Regions from separate parts of the Homo sapiens genome. Here region 2 is linked to region 1. The links are contacts of gene promoters, found by promoter capture Hi-C in blood cells and fetal thymus (Javierre and others, 2016). All regions are on one chromosome and are shown on one strand. The core of a region is centred on a gene start or on the middle of the fragment in contact, and the rest is flanking DNA. Distances in the headings are between cores, read along the strand shown.

Region 1 (3,955 bases), core at 540-3,039:
GATTCCCAAACCTGATAGGGTACTAGAAACACACAAGGAAAATTCAAAGATATTAACTCAAAAGCCTCACCCCCAGAGATTCAGTACGTCTGGAGCAAGGCCCTGGAATCTACTTTTCTTTCTTCCTTTTTTTTTTTTTTTTTTTTGAGACAGGGTCTCTGTTGCCCTGCCTGGAGTGCAGTGGTATGATCACAGCTCACTATAGCCTCAAACTCCTGGGCTCAAGCGATCCTCCAGCTTTGGCCGCTCCAAGTGTTGGGATTACAAGTGAGGGCCACCGCACCTGGCCTGCAATCCACTTTTCTTTTCTTGAGATGGAGTCTCGCTTTGTCGCCCAGGCTGGAGTGCAGTGGTGCGATCTCGGCTCACTGCAAGCTCTGCTTCCCGGGTTCACGCTCTCCTGCCTCAGCCTCCCAAGTAGCTGAGACTACAGGCGCCCACCACCACATCCGGCTAATTTTTTGTATTTTTAGTAGAGACGGGGTTTCACCATGTTAGCTAGGATGGTCTGGATCTCCTGACCTCGTGATCCGCCCGCCTCGGCCTCCCAAAGTGCTGGGATTACAGGCGTCAGCCACCGCATCTGGCCCGGAATCTACTTTTCAAAGTCTCCTAGATAAGTCTGGTTTGCAGCCAGAGTTAGGGGGCCAAAGTTCTGTGAGTGTTCAAGTAGCACTAGCCCAAGTCAACCGCTTCCAAAAAACTGCAACATACACAGGGTTTGACATCACATGGGTAGGGCAACAGAGAGAAATGGCATCAGATCACCACAAAATGTTCTCCGACTGGTACCCGGAGTAGCACTGACCCTGAGGCCCAACAGTGGAACTGCCACTATCTTAACCTGCAGTCACCAAACATGCAAGGAGTGGGCTGCAGCGCCCCATGAAGCAGGGTGCATAGCTCCCCACTTAATAGTTGTGTGACCCTGGAAAGTGACTGTGCCTCCTAGTCTGTAAATTCCGAAGAATAATAGGATCCACTTACTAAGTAGGGCTGAAGTAGATAACCAGGGTGGAACGTTTAGCTCAGTGTCTGACTCACAGCGCGAGCTAAATAAACGTCAGCGCCTGACTGCTAAATGTTCGGCCGCTTTCTTAACTAACATCTATGGACGCGTCCTCTGGGCCGGGCACTGGAAGTCAGCCAGGAGGCAACTCACAGCTCCCCCACTGTCGCAGCACGAGGGGCTCCCCAGGGGCTCTGGAGGGAAAAGGGGTGTGGTCGGGTACATCTATCAGCACATCCATGAATACTGCCGTATGTCCTATGATTAAGGAACCAGAAAAAAAGGCAGCTCCCAGATGGCAAAGGTCTGTCCTCCCAGAGGACGAGGCGGCCTCGGAGGAGGGGAACCACCAGGCTGAGCAGATGTTTGGGGCAGCCCTGACAGGGAAGGCGGGTCTGGAAGAGCAGCTGGGCACGTGCCCCGCCGGAGCGGGCCAGGAGAAGAGGACCAGAGCATCAGGCCCACACTTGTCCCTGCGTCCACGGCCACCAGGCGCTCCCCAATGCGCACGCCCAAGGGACGCCAGGCTCCAGCAGCCGCCCTGGGCCGCAGCCGGCGGCGAAGCCGCTGGGAGACGACCAGACAGGGCGGGGTGCGGGCCCGGCCTCACCACCCACCTCTCATCCGCCATCACGATGGCATCGAATATGTCCTGACTGCCAGCCATAGCGGCAAGCAGCCCGCCCTTGGCCCCCGGGTTTCTGCAGCCCCGCGGTGCCGTAGCAGACCCGGCAGCTTCAGGCACAAATGCTCCGCTTGGGAGGAGACGAGACCCACTTCCGGAAGCGGCGGCGCGGGGCAGGCCGGGTAAGAACGGCACGCGGGAGGGCCCAAAGCAGCCTGTACATGGCGCATGCGCGGCTGCAGCGGTGGGCGGGGCCGGCCTCGACTGAAGCCCCGCCCTGGGGTCCTTTCGCCCTGCCCAGCTCCAGCAAAGGGCCTGTCTGTCCGCGCTGGGAGCGTCCATTGGCCGCGCGCGTGGAGAGCCGACCTGTATTTTACCACTGCAGATAGAACCGAATTTCCCAAAGTGGCTCCGAAAGAACCAAGGAAGAAATGGGAAGTCATCAGCTGGCGCGGTGGCTCACGCCTGTCATCCCAGCACTTTGGGAGGCCGAGGCGCGCGGATCACCTGAGTTCGGGAGTTCGAGACCAGCCTGGCCAACATGGTGAAACCTCGTCTTTACTGAAAATACAAAAATTAGCCGGGCATGGTGGCAGGCGCCTGTAATCCCAGCTACTCGGGAGGCTGAGGCAGGAGAATCACTGGAAGCTGGGAGGCGGAGGTTGCAGTGAGCCGAGATCGCACCACTGCACTCCAGACTGGCGACAGAGCCAGACTCCGTCAAAAAAAAAAAAAAAAAGGGAAAAGAAATGGGAAGTCATCAAAGAACCGACGCCTCAGGAGGCTCCAGGCCAGGAGGCTCTGCATGTGGGATTTTGGGCAGAAATTTGTCGGTTTTAGTTCTCATATTTGTCATTTCCATGAGATGTGCTTTCTGAACACGATTTTTAAAAAGGGATTTCAAAGTCTAAGCGACAACGGAACTCAGATGAGAAACACCAGAAGCATTCCTAATAAAGTCAGTAGTAAAACCTCACGTGACCACTGAACATCTTTCTACCAGCCCTGGCCAATGCAGTAAAACATGAAGCAAGAAGTGGAAATACCAAAAAAAAAAAAAAAAAAAAAAAAAGGCAGAAATACTACTATTTGCAGATATGATGGCCCACGTGGAAAACCCAAATAGTCACCTAAGACGTTCTCAGAATCCATAATCGCAGCAAGTAGCTATGTGTATGATGAATAGGGAAAAAAACACTTTCTGTTATTCCAACAATAATTGGTAGTAACCTGAGCAGGGGTGGTGATGGGAAAATCGCCTTATGATAGTCATAATACATTTCTTAGAAATAAGAATTTCTAACAATTTGAGCAGGACCCATATAAGGAAAACTACAGCTCTACCATGATTGAGGATTGGGGAACTGAACAAGTGCAGTACCAAAGAAAATTCCATGAGATCTGGTAAAATGTGTCAAAATCCTAAACTTTTTCATCCGTATGAATAAACTAATAAAAATAACTAAGATGTTTTAGAAAAAAATGATTTTCATATCAGATATGAAAAGATAAAGTGTCAATATAAATATTGTGGTATGTTGGTTCAAGAAGTGGCAGACCAGTGAAATAAAGTAAATGGCCCAGACAATGGACTCTCATAGATGTAAAGCCTTCTCATGTGGTAAAAAGAAGAATTACAAATTAATTGGAGAAAGGAAATATTAACTAATAACTATAATGGAAAATTGGTTGTTTGGGAAAAGCTTGGTTCCATTTATGCCTCACACCATTCATCAAAATAATTCCAGATGAGTTAAAGAGTTAACTTAAAAAAATTAAGCACATTGGCTGGGCACGGTGGCTCACGCCTGTAATCCCAGCACTTTGGGAGGCCCAGGCAGGTGGATAACCAGAGTTAGGGAGTTCGAGACCAGCCTGACCAACATGGAGAAACCCCGTCTGTACTAAAACTACAAAATTAGCCTGGCGTGGTGGTGCATGCCTGTAAGCCCAGCTACTCGGGAGGCTGAGGCAGGAGAACCCAGGAGACAGAGGTTGCAGTGAGCCGAGATCACACCATTGCACCCCAGCCTGGGCAACAAGAGCAAAACTCCATCTCTAAATAAATAAATGAATAAAGCACATTTTGCCTGTAATCCCAGCACTTTGGGAGGCCGAGGCGGGCGGATCATGAGGTCAGGAGATCGAGACCATCCTGGCTAACATGGTGAAACCCCGTCTCTACCAAAAAATACAAAAAAAAAAAATTAGTGGGGCATGGTGACGTGTACCTGTAGTCCCAGCTACTTGGGAGGCTGAGGCAGGAGAATGGCATGAACCTGGGAAGTGGAGCTTGCAATGAGCCGAGATCGCGCTACTCT
Region 2 (3,955 bases), core at 932-3,431, 510 kb before region 1:
GCTGAATGAACCCAGGTGAGGACCAGAAACGCTGTTATCACTGTTTCTGCGGCACCCGATACACTCACCTATGCCAAGGAAATTTTTTTTTTTTTTTTGGTTTCTACAGGACTTGCTGTGCTCAGATCCTCCATTCAAGAGAGCTACAGACACGGGGGTGCTGGTGAGCAGGAGCCGAGACCATCTGGGGTGGGACCGACCAAGAGTTTGAGGTGTCCAGGGGGTGACGTGAAGATGACCTATTGCAGAGGGTCCCTTCTCATTCACGCTCTGAAGTCTGCACAGGGGCAGGGGCTACCGTGCTCCATTTCAGTTTGGCCTCTGTTGTATCAGCCAGAGGCCAGCAGAACTCTATGGTCACTCCCCCGTGTCACGGACAATTTGCCACCTCCACCGGCAGCCCAGGGCTCTGCCTGAATATTCTCGCCTGATCGTAGGATTGTGGGGAGGGATATTCTCATTGATCTCTAAGGAAAATATTGTTCGCTTTTTAAAAACATGATCTGGTACCATTTCATTGATCTCTTTAAGGAAGAAAAATCACATGGTTGTCATGAGCATGTACCGACAGAGCTAGGAGGGCCAGCTGTTCCGGGTTGCCCAGGGCTGTCTTGTTTTTAAAATGGAAAGTTCGATGTCCTGGAAAACCCCTCAGTCCTGGGCAAACCAGGTCACGCTGGATAGAAGGAGTTAGACATTCATATGATGTGCCGATGTCTTGCCAGTTGTAGAGTTTTGTGTAAACCTGTGTGTGGCCTGCGTGTCCACATGGGTGTGTAGGATGGCACCTACACACATACCTGAGGTCACCTCTTGGTCCAGTGAGCCAGAATCCTGGGACTTCATCATCTTTTTTTTTTTTTTTTTTGAGATGGAATCTCACTCTGTCACCCAGGCTGGAGGGCAGTGGCGCAATCTTGGCTCACTGCAACCTCCGCCTCTGGGGCTCAAGCAATTCTCCTGCCTCAGCCTCCCGAGTAGCTGGGATTATAGGCGTGTGCCACCACGCCCTGCTGATTTTTGTATTTTTTAGTAGAGATGGTGTTTCACTATATTGGCCAGGCTGGTCTTGAACTCCTGACCTCAAGTGATCTGCCTGCCTTGGCCTCCCGAAATGCTGGGGTTACAGGCATGAGCTACCATGCCCGGCCTCAGAATCCTGGGACTTCTGCTGGAGCCAGGGGTCAGAACAGACTCCTCTACTGGGACTGCCTGGCAGGGAGGACAGACGCTCAAGGCGGCCCCATGAGAACACAGCCACCTGGAAAAATGGTGGAAGGGAAGATTCTGCCAACCTCCTCCGACTCCCTATCTCAGTTACACTGGTCCATAATTTCTTTTCTTTTTCTTAAGTCTGTTTCATTGGTTTCTGTTCCTGGAAAATGGACACAATTCTGATGAATTCATGTATTCTGCATCCACGTGTCAGCATCTCCAGCCTTGTGACGCAGTGCCTGGCTCAGAACAGGCAATCAGGCCATGGCATCTGAATGAATGAGAGGGTGTGCCCTGGCCGTATCTCAGGCAGCAGATGCATTCAGCTGCAGGTAACAGACACGTAGACAAACAGTGGCTTAAAAAAGAGAGGCTTTAAAAGTATTTTGTTTTTCTTTCTTCACGTAGCAAGAAGTCTGGCATTTGGCATTCCCAGGCTGTGGCGTGACAGCTTTGTGAAGTTATCAGGGTCTCAGACCCTGACATATTTCTGCTCTGCTACCCTCAGCATGTAGATTTGATCTTCACGGCTACAAGAAACCTGCTGCTACTGCAGGCATCTTACACGAGTTCCAGGCAGGAAGAGAAAGGAAAGGGTGACAGAGACAGAAAGCAATGTCCCCAGATACCCTTAGTTTTCCATCTCATAAGCCAGAATGATGTCACGTGGCATCCCTGGATGCACAGGAGGCTGAGAGATAGTGGCGTTTGTTAGCTGGTCTCCTAGCCATCCTGAATGCCAAGTTTGTTATAAAGAAACAGAGGCAAAATGGCGATCAGGCAGGCAACTGGGTGGTCTCTGCCACGGGCCCCTTGGCCATTCTTTGTAATGATGGTCTTTGTCTTGGACCCTATTTTGGATATTTGGGCACCTTTGTGGTACCCTTATGTGCTGGTTTTGCTGTTGTCTGCCCTTCAGGAATAGCAGCTGAGTCAAGCTGTCCTTGGCTGCTCCAATCTGGAGTCAGAGGTTGGAGATTTCCATGGCTCCCCATGGCTCCTTGGGGCCTCCTAAGAAAATGTTTTAATAAGGAAGTCCAAGGCTGAGACAGACATGCTCCTTCTTAGAGACACATGGGAACATGCCTCTGCTCACAGCTGGTAGCCACAGATGTAAACCGTAGCCCATGGAACGGAGACAGTGAAGAATTGATGGATAAATGAATAATGATGATGGACAGCAGATGTATAAAAGGCATAAAAGGATAGTGTTAGGGCTGGAATGTCTTCCCCCCAATTCATATGTTGAACCTTTAATGCCTAATACTTCAGAAAGAGACTGTGTTTGAAGATATGGTCTTTACAGAGGGAATAAAGTTAAAATAAGGTCATTAGGGTGAGCCCTAATCCAAAGGATGGGTGTCCTAATCAGAGGAGGAGATTAGGACCCAGACACACACACACACACAGAGCCAGGTGAGGACACAGGGAGAAAATGGCCACGTACAAGCCAAGATGAGAGGACTCAGGAAGAACCAGCCGACTCCACCCTTCAAAACTGTGAGAACATAGATGTCTGCTGTTTGAGCCACCCTGTCTGCAAGCAGTCAGCAAGCATTCATTGAGTGCTTGCAGTATTCAAGGCACCACAGATACAATGTTGAATAAGGCAAAGCACCTGCCCTCAGGTAGCTTGCAGTCAGGGAGGTAAGGGTAGTGGGCAGAGAGACCTGGAAACAGATATTAGACCTGCACTAAGCATGTGTGGTTATTGAACAGTAAAAATGCCACCACAAATTGCGATATGATGTAAGTAAAATGCGTACTGGCTATTGAAGACTTGGCACAGAAAAATAATGTAAAATCTCATTAGTAATGGTTTTATATTGATTACGCATTGAAATAATACTATTTTGGACAGATTGGGTTAAATAAAATATTAAATTTGATTTCGCCTGTTTCTTTTATTTTCATTACTTATTGGCCATGATATTTTATTTAACTTTTAACTTTTATTTTAGATTCAGTGGTACATGTGCATGTTTGTTATACAGGTAAACTCATGGGGGTTTGGTGTACAGATTCTTTGTCACCTGAGTACTAAACTTAGTACCCAAGAATTATTTTATCTGATCCTCTCCCTCCTCCCACCTTCCACCCTCAAGTAGGCCCCAGTGTTTGTTGTTCCCCTTTATGTGACCATGTGTTCTCACAAGTGAGAACATGTGGTATTTGGTTGTCTGTTCCTGTGTTAGTTTGCTATGGACAATGGCCTCCAGCTCCACCCATGTTCCTGCAAAGGACATGATCTTATTCTTTTTTATGGCTGAATAGTATCCCATGGTGTATATGTACCACTTTTTCCTTATCCAGTCTACCATTGATGGGCATTTAGGTTGATTCACCTATTCCTTTTAATAGGTCTTAATATGGCTAGTAGGAAATTTAAAATCACATAGGTAGCTTATATTATTTTTGTTATGGACAGTGCTGTGCTGGACCTTCATAATGCAGTAAAAGGGTGGCGGGTGAATGCATGGTGTGTTACAGGAACGCAGGAGGGAGCTTCTTGGAGGAGGTTCTTAGTCCATTTATGCCTGAGGTTGCCGTTTTTTAAATTTTTGCAATCAGACCTTGGTGATGACCTTGAGCAGTAGGATATATAAATAACTCCCACATGCTCAGCATTCCAATAATGGAACACTAGGCATAAATGGGTTGAGTGATAATGTTTGGACTGCAAACCAGAACCTATGAGATGCAGCTAAAGCAATTCTTGAAGGGAAAGTTATAGCCTTAA

The links. The method cuts DNA at HindIII sites, captures the fragments that hold promoters and counts their contacts. A CHiCAGO score of 5 or more calls a contact.
Region 2: a contact is called between a fragment that was not itself captured here and the fragment with the promoter of LTO1 in region 1, in 2 of 17 cell types (endothelial precursors and M1 macrophages). The highest score is 8.1, in endothelial precursors.

What each region holds. Positions count from the first base shown.
Region 1 is chr11:69,673,564-69,677,518 of GRCh38, forward strand. LTO1 (LTO1 maturation factor of ABCE1) reads right to left here and starts at 1,790. Exons shown (of 5, transcript NM_153451.3): 1 at 1,627-1,790. The coding sequence starts at 1,676. RefSeq lists a silencer at 1,372-1,461 and enhancers at 1,582-2,082, 1,952-2,151. The HindIII fragment of the contact is 5,284 bases long and covers 1-3,335 here.
Region 2 is chr11:69,159,337-69,163,291 of GRCh38, forward strand. SMIM38 (small integral membrane protein 38) reads left to right here. Exons shown (of 3, transcript NM_001369201.2): 2 at 1-15; 3 at 110-3,104. The region is part of intron 2 of LOC338694 (a long non-coding RNA gene); the gene reads right to left. Among named protein-coding and RNA genes, the nearest start is that of SMIM38, 5.4 kb to the left of the region's middle. The HindIII fragment of the contact is 8,605 bases long and covers 1-3,955 here.